Linked DNA regions of Homo sapiens: region 1 is linked to region 2. The links are contacts of gene promoters, found by promoter capture Hi-C in human tissues and cell types (Jung and others, 2019). All regions are on one chromosome and are shown on one strand. Each heading gives the region's core, a stretch centred on a gene start or on the middle of the fragment in contact. The rest is flanking DNA. Distances are from core to core; before and after follow the strand shown. Region 1 holds the start of LOC105377139 (a long non-coding RNA gene). Region 2 holds the start of ICOSLG (inducible T cell costimulator ligand).

Region 1 (5,391 bases), core at 1,899-4,398, 53 kb after region 2:
CCGGCTGGGTAGCCTCTAAACCGCTAGGAATGGGTAGAGTCCATGAGCAGCAACGATGCAGGATTCCCACAATCCTTCCATTTTCCAAGTTAGTATTGAGCCTGCTAGGAGCTGAGGATAAGGCAGCACATAAGGTAAGTTTCCAAGGGTCAAATTTCCATCTGTGTGTGGAATTTGTGTTGTTCATAGACTAATCAAGTGGTTTCAGATGTCTGGGTCTGTCTCTAAGTCTGTTTACTTGCAAATCCAAGCCAAGGTTAAACAAATGGTCTTCATTAAACCTTCATTTGATCTCATGTCCACAGTCTGCTCTGCCAGTAGTTTACAGCCAGAGGCAAAGCAAACCAAGAACACAGAGCCATCTACAGGGAAAAATCCTGGGTAACTACTTCTTCTCAGAAAAGCCCATCACCATCTCCACGCTCAAGAGAATAGTGCTGGACCCCTACCTCACACCATGTACCAAAACTAACTCAGAACAGACCAACAACCCTAATGTAACAGCAAAAAATATAGAACTCTCAGACAAAAACCCAGGGGAAAAGCTTGACAACATTGCTTTTGGCAGTGATTTCTAGGATATGACACCAAAAGCACAAGCAGCAACAGAAAAAAACATTAAATTTAAACCATCTGTGCACCAAGGACACTGAACAGTGAAAACACAACCATGAAATGGGAGAAGGTAGGTGCAAATTGTGTATCTGATATGGGATGAATATGCAGAATATGATTATTTTATTTTTACTTTTTTTTGAGATAGAGTCTCGCTCTGTCACCCAGGCTGGAGGGCAGTGGCACAATCTTGGCTCACTTTAACCTCTGCCTCCCGGGTTCAAGTGATTCTCGTGCCTCAACCTCCCAAGCAGCTGAGATTATAGGCGTGTGCCACCATTCCCGGCTAATTTTCAGTAGTAGAGACAGGGTTTTGCCATGTTGGCCAGGCTGGTCTCAAACTTCTGGCCTCAAGTGATCCACCTGCCTCAGCCTCCCAAAGTGCTGGGATTACAGGTGTGAACCACCGTGCCCAGCCATGATTATTATTATTTTTTAAATATAGAGACCAGATCTTGCTATGTTGCCCAGGCTGGTCTTGAACTCCTGAACTCAAGCAATTCTCCTGCTTTGGCCTCCCAAAATGCTGTGATTACAGGCATGAACCACCACGCCCGGCCCAGAATATGATTTTTTTTAATTGGCAGAGACAAGGTCTCATTTTGTCACCCAGGCTGGAGTGCAATGGCACAATCTCGGCTCACTGCAACCTCCGCCTCCCAGGTTCAAGTGGTTCTTCTGCCTCAGCCTCCCGAGTAGCTGGGATTACAGGCACCTGCCAACATGCCTGGCTAATTTTTGTATTTTTAGTAGAGATGGGGTTTTACCATGTTGGCCAGGCTGGTCTTGAACTCCTGACCTTAGATGATCCACCTGCCTTGGCCTTCCAAAGTGCTGGGATTACAGGCGTGAGCCACCGTGCCTGGCCAAAATGTTAAATTCTTTACAGATATGTCAAAGTCAGCAATAAACCATACTATATAGAAACAAACAAAAATTTACTAGAAATAATTCAGTGAGCCAACTCTTTGTATCAGTCATTATTTATTATTATTATTATTATTATTATTACTATTTTGAGACAGGGTCTCATTCCCATTGCCCAGACTGGAGTGCAGTGGTGTGATCACTACTCACTACAGCCTCAACTTCTTGGGCTCAAGTGATTCTCTCACCTCAGCTTCCCAACTAGCTGAGACTACAGGCACCCGGCTACTTTTTGTATTTTCAGTAGAGACGGGGTTTCACCACGTTGCCCAGGCTGGTCTCAAGTGACCCACTGCCTCAGCTTCCCAAAGTGCATAGTCATTTTTAAAGTACAGTTTAGGGATAATGTATTATTTCTATTAGAGTTATAACTTTAAGCTGGGAGATGTTCAGTAACTAAGTTTGTGAAGCTATTAGAATGTTTAAGTGCATTTGGTTTGCTATGAGCTTGATTTATTAAAAGGATAAGAGTAATTTAAGTGTTTGACAAGTCTGGCTGTCTGTTTTGCAAATGTTTCCTGTCAGGTATTTGAAATGCTTAAAAAGAAAAATGAAGACATTAAATTATAATCAAACGTTAAAAACATAAAGGGAATTTAACTTTAATAAAAAGCCTATCAACAATGATACATCTACAAAGAGGCAGACATTCCAAGTTGGGAAGATGGGGAGGTTACTTACCCGTGCTGCTCCCGAACCAATTAACTAGCAGAACTTGTTTTCAAACAATAAGATACAACCTGGTACAGAATGTTCCAACGCGGTGGGGGAGGGATCACGTTTGCCGATGAGGACTGCAATGTTGGGACTAAAACCGTGTGTGAAACCTGAACGGCTCCAAAATCATCTGTTCCCTTCTCATCTCTCCCAGAAGTGTCCGTGACAGTCGCTGTCATGGAAGTCACCTCCCCAGCACCACAAGGGAGAGCCATCCTTCCTGCAGGGCGGCCACGTGGCCACCTAGGCTGGTCCCGGGAGACCTTGGACCCAGGCTGGTGCCTGCCCCAGCTCCTGTCCCGAGACGTGGCTGAAGGTGAGCATCTCACCCAGGCTGGGCAGCAGTGTCCACCCTGGGACTTTTGGGACTGATGAAGACAGTCAAGTCCATCCCCATGAAAACAGAGAGGGCTGCTTTTCCAGCAGAATAGAAATCACCAAACTCAATCCTAGAAGAACTGGAATATTCGAATAGTCCGCCTTCCACAGGAGAAATTAGAAAGGTGATGGATATTTATCTTTAAGGAAAGTGCAGACCAGTTGAATTTTATTTAACCTTTAAAAAGATAATTCTAACTTTTCTAGGCCACAGAAAAAGATGGGAAACCTCCTATTTATGAAGGCATAGCTTTTGTCAAGGGAGCATATAGGGCCAGGTGCGGTGGCTCAAGCCTGTAATCCCAGCACTTTGGGAGGCCGAGGCGGGTGGATCAGCTGAGGTCAGGAGTTTGAGACCAGCCTGACCAACATGGAGAAACCCTGTCACTACTAAAAATACAAAATTAGCCAGGTGTGGTGGCATGTGCCTGTAATCCCAGCTACTCAGGAGGCTGAGGCAGGAGAATTACTTGAACCTGGGAGGCAGAGGTTGCGGTTAGCCAAGATTGCACCACTTCACTCCAGACTGGGCAAAAGGAGCGAAACTCCATTTCAAAACAAAAAAAGGTGGTGGGGGGGAGCATATAAAATGATAAAGCTATGTTGCTTGTACCTATAGATGCAAACAGTTTGGATAAAATATTAGCAAAAATATACTACCAATGTGTCAAAATCATCACACACCACCCCCAAGCAGGTGGTTTATTTTAGAAATGCAAAGATGGTTCAGGAACAGGACATCTATCAGCATGAAAAAGAAATTAGTGGACAAGGAGCAGTGGCTCGCACCTGTAATCCCAGCACTTTGGGAGGCCGAGGCGGGTGGATCACCTGAGGTCAGGAGTTTGAGACCAGCCTGGCCAACATAGTGAAACCCCGTCTCTACTAAAAATACAAAAATTAGCCAGGTGTGTTGACGGGTGCCTGTAATCCCAGGTACTTGGGAGGCTGAGGCAGGAGAATCACTTGAACCCGGGAGGCAGAGGTTGCAGTGAGCCGAGATCACGCCACTTCACTCCAGCCTGGGTGACAGAGTGAGACTCTGTCTCAAAAAAAAAAAAAAAAGAAAGAAATTAGTGAAAGAAGAAAGATGCAGATAACTCAGGCTTAGCAATCCTTACGCAGCTGCTCCTGGGTGGCCTGAGGGCAACTGGAAAGGGAGCTGGGCCCAGCCAGCTGCAGAATGACCAGGAGCTCAGCCCGACACAGCCTCACCAAGGTGGGCCTGGCATGCAGCAGGGGCTGCACGAAGGCCTGGGGAGGGGAGGGTCTGTCCGGCCTCCGAAGGGACCCTGAGAGTCCTGGGCAATAGAAAGTTCTGGGCATTGAGTTGTTAGAGGGACCAAAAGGTGGGGAAAGAGCGTGTCTGTGGTTGGGATGTGTGGGCTGCAGGCCACAGCCAGCAAACTCCTCCGTGCAGATGCTGACAGGGAGCGTGTCAGCAGGGTGATCTGTGATCCCAAACCAGGCCTGGAGCAGTGGCCCCCGGGTGGCCCGCCAGCCTCGGACTCTGGCCTCATCCCTCCTCCCTGCTCCTCTCAGGGGCTGGACACTGCCTCCTTCCCCTCTGGCCCCCTCTGATCCAGCCTCCAGGGGTGGGGACCTCAGCCAGCTGATGTCCAGGTGTCCTGGGAAAGTGGCCCTAGCCACAGATTCACACTCCTGAGGCAGGCTTCGGATGGGCCCACCTGGGACCCATGCTCACCTCTGTCAGAGGTCAGGGCCCGGTGTCCCGTGGACAGGAGGGCAGATGCAGAGAATACCCTCCCCACCCCTCATCCTTTCTCGGCCTCTCAGCATAGGCCGGCAGATGTCATGCCAGGCACGGTGGGTGAGGACCACATCAGCCAAGGCTATGCTCTGGTAGGGCCTAAACGCTGCGGGATGCTTTACGCCTGCTTGGTGTTCACGATCGTCGTGAAACAAAGCCAAGGAGCTCATGCCTGTGGGGACCCTCCCCTAGGGTCACGGGTCTACCCCGATCTTAGTCCTCGCGCCAGCCTGTGGAGGGAGTGCTCTGATTTCAGATGGGAAATCGAGGCAGGGAACGGCTGTGCAGCTCACCCAGGGCCAGGCTCGGGCCAGTGCTCCTGTCCGGGGAGAGGCACCATCCTGGGTCTGGCTTGTCATGCTGCATTCATCACGCGTGTCTGCAGCCGCATTTGTCGTGCATGTCTGTGTGGATATGGCTCCTCCAGGTCCAAGGAGCAGGAGCAGAGCAGGCCCCGGGGGGCAGGAAGCTCCGTCCCCACTGCCCCACGCACAGTGCAGAGGACCCGTAGGTGGCCACAGAGGTCTCCGCTAGTTGAGGCCGGCATGGCTTGTCCTCCTGCAAAGGTCCAGCCCCGAGGGTGGGCGCTCGGGGCCATAGGCAGCGAGGGCAGTTCTGGTGGATCCTGGGGCTTGGCATCTCGGGGCAGGCAGGGGCTTGCAGAAGAGAAGCCAAGGTCACTGCTGGGGAAGCAGCCGGCACCAGGGGCCACTGCCTGACGCACCATTGCAAGCAGGGTGTGGGGCTGTCCACCACCCCCAAAAGACCGCCAGCATGCCCCCTGCCTCCAGCACCACCCTCCCCATCCACAGCCTCTGTGCTGGTCCCGGCCGCTGGCCAGGCTGGCATTGGCCCCTGGAGCTGGTGGGAGAGGGTCCTGTGTCTCAGGCTGCCCTCCGCTGTCTTCAGGGCTCAGAGACTGGGATGAGTGGCCTTTGTACCAGGTGCTGGGGGCTGACAGCAATGAGGGCCAGGCTCCAGCA
Region 2 (4,863 bases), core at 2,099-4,598:
AGAGAATAGACTGCTGTTGTTTTGAGCCAGCAAGCGTGAGGTCGTTAGTTCCAGCGCCCACAGGAAACGAACATACAGTCATGCACCACATAACCTTCGGTCAACAAGCAATGCCACAGTGCTCCCATATCACAGCGCGGTATTTTTACTGCACCTGTTCTATGTTTAGATGGCTTTAGATACACAAATACCAGTGAGTCACAGCTGCCTACGCTATTCAGCACAGTCACCTGCCGCGTAGGCTCGTGGCCCTGGAGCAGCAGGCTGTGACACACAGCCTCGGCGTGTAGCAGGCTGTGCCACCAGGGCCAGTGTGTGCACTCTGTGTTCACACAAGGACAAAATCACCTAAGGACGCATTTCTCAGAAGGAATGTATCCTTTTCGTTAAACAATGTATGACTGTTCCCCGAAGAGAAAAGATCTTCCTTGGACCAGAAGTTGAGCTCTCAGCATCAGCGGACGCCCATGCTGTCAAACGCAGGTTGCTGTGCCAGACCCCAAAAGGACCCGGGCCTGGAGGTGCATCAAGGTGGAGATCAGAAGACCCCCACGCCCTCGAAACGGCAGAGCAGGGCGGCCTGGGGCTAGGGGCATCAGGCAGCTGCTTCCTGCTTAAGCACTACGACTCGCACCCAGAGCCTCGAACTCCAGGCTGCACAAATACGATTCCTGCTTGGTTCCCAGTTGGCCCTGGACGCTGCCAAGGGGCCCTCTCTCCACACCCCTAGAACAAAAGCCTATCCTGCCGGCCCAAGAAACAGTCACGGTTGAGGGGGAAAACGAAAACCTTCCTTTGACTACAGGAAACTTCCCAAAGGTTTCCCTGTTTCTTCATCTAAACCCATCTAAGTGTTGTGACACATGTGCCGGTGTGCTGTGTGCGTTCACTTACAACAGCCCCATTCATGTATATGTCACACGTCAGGGGATGCAGGCACCAAGGGGCTAAGGAACTTTCTGGGGTCACACAGCTCCGGAGTTGGGATCTGAACCAGCCACCGCTTACCGTGGTCTCCGAGGTTCCTGGGCTGGTCCTGGCACCCTCCCCCGCGGCCGCCTCGGCCTGCCTCAGTGTCCCCTTCTGGCCCAGCTGCCTTCCTGCCCCTGCCTGGCTGTGGCCTCCACGCGGCGTCCCCTCTCTCGGGGGGGCGGGGGGGGGGCTGCCCGCAGCACTTGGCTTGCTGGGGTCTCCGGCGTCTGCCCGGGAAGCAGAGCCTGGACCTGCCCCCTCGGCCACAGCACGGCGGGCCCTGCGGTGTCGGCCCCTCTCCCACCGCCCCCGGGCGGCACTGGGGGGCTGCGGGGTCCGGACGCACCGACAGGGCACCTTCCCTTCGCCGCCGCGGATGACCGGCCGCGCTCTTGGGAGGCCTTAATTTGGGAGGCTCTGCTCCCCCAGGACCCATTCCCCATCCTCCCAAAGCCCCCACGCGGTATCCGGGGGCCGTCCCCCTCTCCGCAGTCCCGCGGGTGGAGGGGATTCAGGTGCGCCCGGCCCTGGGGGTGGAGCGCTCGGCCCGGCGTCAGCTCATCGGCGCGGCGCAGCCCCGGACCTCAGCCGCAGGCCCAGAGGCGCGCGGTTCCCGGCCGGTCAATCAGGGAGGGCCTCCGGGAGGAGGTGGCGCTGCCCGCAGCCCGCCCGGCTCACCTGCGCCCTCCTCACCTGCGCCCTCCTCACCTGCGGGGCCATGCGGTCCCTTACCAGCAGCCGCCCGCCCCGGGGCGAGGAACCTCAGCCCCCAACATCGCCACCCCTCCAGCCTCGCCGGTCCTAGCCGGCGTCCCTGGGCGTGTCCCGGGAAGCGCACGTCCACGCTGGCGCTGGACCGGGTTTTCTGACTCCAGGGACGGGACTCGTCCTAAAGAGTCCGGCTCAGATGCGGTTACGCGCCTCACCTCACCCGGGTGCGGACCGCCAGTGCCTCCGCCCTGCACTCCGCGGGCCCTGCCCAGCTCTTCCCGCCGGAGGGCAGGTGGCCCCCGCCCCGCCCCTGCCAGGCGCGCGATTTTAAATCCCCCCAACCCCCGTCTCTCAGCGTGGCCTGGGAGGGGGAAGCCGCCCGGCTTCAGGGCTTCCTGCGCCTTCGCCGCCGCCCTCCCTGCCCTTCCCCGCCGCCGTCCCCCCTATCCCCCCAGCCCGTCTCTTCCGCCTTCTTATTTTGTGCCTGGGCTCTCTGCTCCGCAAAAATGTTGACTTCCCACGGGCAGAGGTTTCAGAATTTTTTTAAAGCTTTTGTCCACGGCGTTCTCTACATCTTGGTTGAAGGAATGGCAGCCTGCGGGGTGCCGTCTGGGGCCCCCGTCTCCCTGCGCTTCTCGCCTCCTCCATGCGCAGGAGGCGGTGGGGATCCGAGCCTCAGCCCAGAGGCGGGGGCTCCGGGAGGAGGGTGCCCCGCTGCCCTGTCTAGCAGCCTCACCCAGGCCCTTCCGGAGGTGCCTCTGCAGAAAGGGAGTCACGTCCCCCCTGGGCCTCACCTGGCTTGCAGGGATCAGGGAGGGAGGGCGGGGTGGGCTGGGTGCGGTGGGGAAGGAGCAGGGACTCTGGGTCCCACCCTCGGTTGCGTGGTGCAGCCTTTCCCAAACCAGCTGCCCCAGACTCCAGGCCAGACGCCACTGCCAAGGCTGACGAGCCCAGAGCCGCAAGCCTGCCTCGGTTTCTCGGCGGGGGATCCTCAGAGCCAGTGTTAAGCAAAGAGGCTGCGCCAGCGCCCTTCACACCCCTAGAAGGCTAGGGGAGCAAGGCTAGGTGGGGGCGGGCTGGGGCTGGCCCAGAGGGTAGAGCCCGCCCACTTTCCCTCCCTCCTTCCATTCATGCATGCGTTCATTCAGTCATTCATTCCTCAGCAGTCGCTGAGCTCACTCGCCTTAAGTCCTGGAGATCATCGGAGCGCAGCCGGCCAGGGGCCTGGCGCTCTCCCAGCCTTGGGGCCTGGGTCCCCGGACTCCTGCTCGGGGAGGGCCGCAGGACCGGCGCATTGTGCGCGGCGCGGGGAACGGCCCTTGCCTCCCACGGTGCCCTCCCTCGCTGCGCCGGCACCCGCAGCACCCCTGGCCACCTTCCTGCCGGGTACCCCCCACCCCTGCGCTTCCCAGGGCACCTACGGCGCCCAGGTCCGCGTCCAGGCGGACAGGCCGACCTGCCTCTGTCCCGCCTCCGGCCGACGGGCACACGCCTGGGCAGAGCCGAACTTTCCGGAGCCGCCGCGCAGCGCCCCGCCTCCTGTCCCGGGGCGGTCTCGGTCGCCAGAGGAGCCAGGCCGGGGGCGGGGCGGGGACGGGGCGGGGACACGGCTGCCTCCAGCACACCGCGCGCTGGGCGCTCAGAGCCTCGGGCGCGGCGGGAGCGCAGTTAGAGCCGATCTCCCGCGCCCCGAGGTTGCTCCTCTCCGAGGTCTCCCGCGGCCCAAGTTCTCCGCGCCCCGAGGTCTCCGCGCCCCGAGGTCTCCGCGGCCCGAGGTCTCCGCCCGCACCATGCGGCTGGGCAGGTGAGCCGGGGAAGGAGCGGAGGCGCCGCGGTCAGGGGCGGGGTGGCTCGGCCCGCGCGTCCCCAGCTCGGCTCGGACGCGGGGCCTGCGGGGCTCGCCTGGAGGTGCCGGGCTGGCAGTGCGGGTCCGAGGAGCGGGCGGCGGAGGCGCCGGGGCGGCCGGCGGGGCGTGGACGGCAGTGGGCGGCGGGGCCTGGCACCGGGACCCATGGCAGGACGCACAGCCGTGCGGGGGCGGGCTCGGGGGCGGGGTCCCTGCCAGGGAAGGAGGACCGCGAACGCTGGAAGGAGGGAGGGAAGGCGGGCGCACCCTGCACGCCGGGGCACGGGCGCTGCCCCTTCCACTCCCTGGCACTGCTGATTTCCTAGAAGAAGGGAGAAGGAGGGAGGTGACCGGCCGAGCGCTCTCCAAGGCCAGCTGGTGCCCACGGTCTGCGGACACGCCCTCCCCCACACACGTGGGATTCCCCGCAGCCCGGCAGCCGATCCACACTGGGGAAGGCGGGGCTGCCTGAACCAGGAGTGACAGCTTCCTCCTGGATTTTTGCGAAAATATCCAAAATATACTCTTCGCAACCCACGTTGTAGGGTCCGCAGCCTGTGCTCCCCTGGGTGAACCTGTGAGGCCCCTGACCCCAGGGATGCCTCCCGCACAGCTCAGAGCTGGGCCACACCGGAGTCACACTCCCCAGGTCCCCTCCCCATTAGAAGTGTATGCAGTTATGATCCTGCCCTAGAGAGAAAGAATTTAAAGGTCCCGGAATGTCATAGCCCTCCCAAATGTCTTAGCCCTCCGCCACCCACACCTTCAGGTAGGCGGCCCTGTCCATGCTGGGTCTTGAGGCAAGCTCGGGGTGGGGGTAGGTTAGATGCAGGGGTGCTGAGGGTCCAAGGAAAGGACACAGAGGCCGCTGCTTAGGCAGCACCCAGGGAGGGGACAAGCCAGAAACAGCCTGGAGCAGGCACCCCCCACCCTGGCCCAGGAAGCCCCCAGATGTCCTGAGGAGGCCTCCATAGACAGGAGGGGCCTTGTGGGCTGGTGATGAATATGGGCACTGTGGGAGACAAATGGGGGCACAGAGGAGTTCTCACAGCTGTCGTTTAGATGGTGGCTCTGGGGAAATGCTTGAAGGGGCTAAGGGTGGAGGCAGGGGGCCTGCTGGAGGCCATCACAGCCATCTTGCCAGCCAGAATGGTGGCCCCAACAGGGGGAGTGGGAGAGAGAGGAAGGGCCGCCTGCAGACTTCAAGAGCCCCTGGTGGCCAGGGGCCGCCTTGGTGCATGTGTGCTCACTTGGCACAGACACACCTCCATGCAGACTCAGATGACAGCCATCGTGGGTGGGGCAGGGGTTTCTGTGGCTCCAGGGCTCAGGGA

What was found. Contacts are between HindIII fragments. The study calls those that stand out against the background at their distance.
Region 1: a fragment that was not itself captured here is called in contact with the fragment with the promoter of ICOSLG in region 2 in 2 of the 25 tissues and cell types used here (dorsolateral prefrontal cortex and spleen).

Annotation. Positions count from the first base shown.
Region 1 is chr21:44,185,642-44,191,032 of GRCh38, reverse strand. It overlaps LOC105377139 (a long non-coding RNA gene), which reads left to right and starts at 280. Exons shown (of 4, transcript XR_001755082.3): 1 at 280-685; 2 at 2,414-2,575. The HindIII fragment of the contact is 7,407 bases long and covers 1-5,391 here.
Region 2 is chr21:44,239,428-44,244,290 of GRCh38, reverse strand. ICOSLG (inducible T cell costimulator ligand) reads left to right here and starts at 3,348. Exons shown (of 7, transcript NM_015259.6): 1 at 3,348-3,487. The coding sequence starts at 3,474. RefSeq lists enhancers at 1,050-1,588, 4,093-4,863 and cis regulatory regions at 2,622-3,537, 2,613-3,537, 2,538-3,537. The HindIII fragment of the contact is 7,916 bases long and covers 1-4,863 here.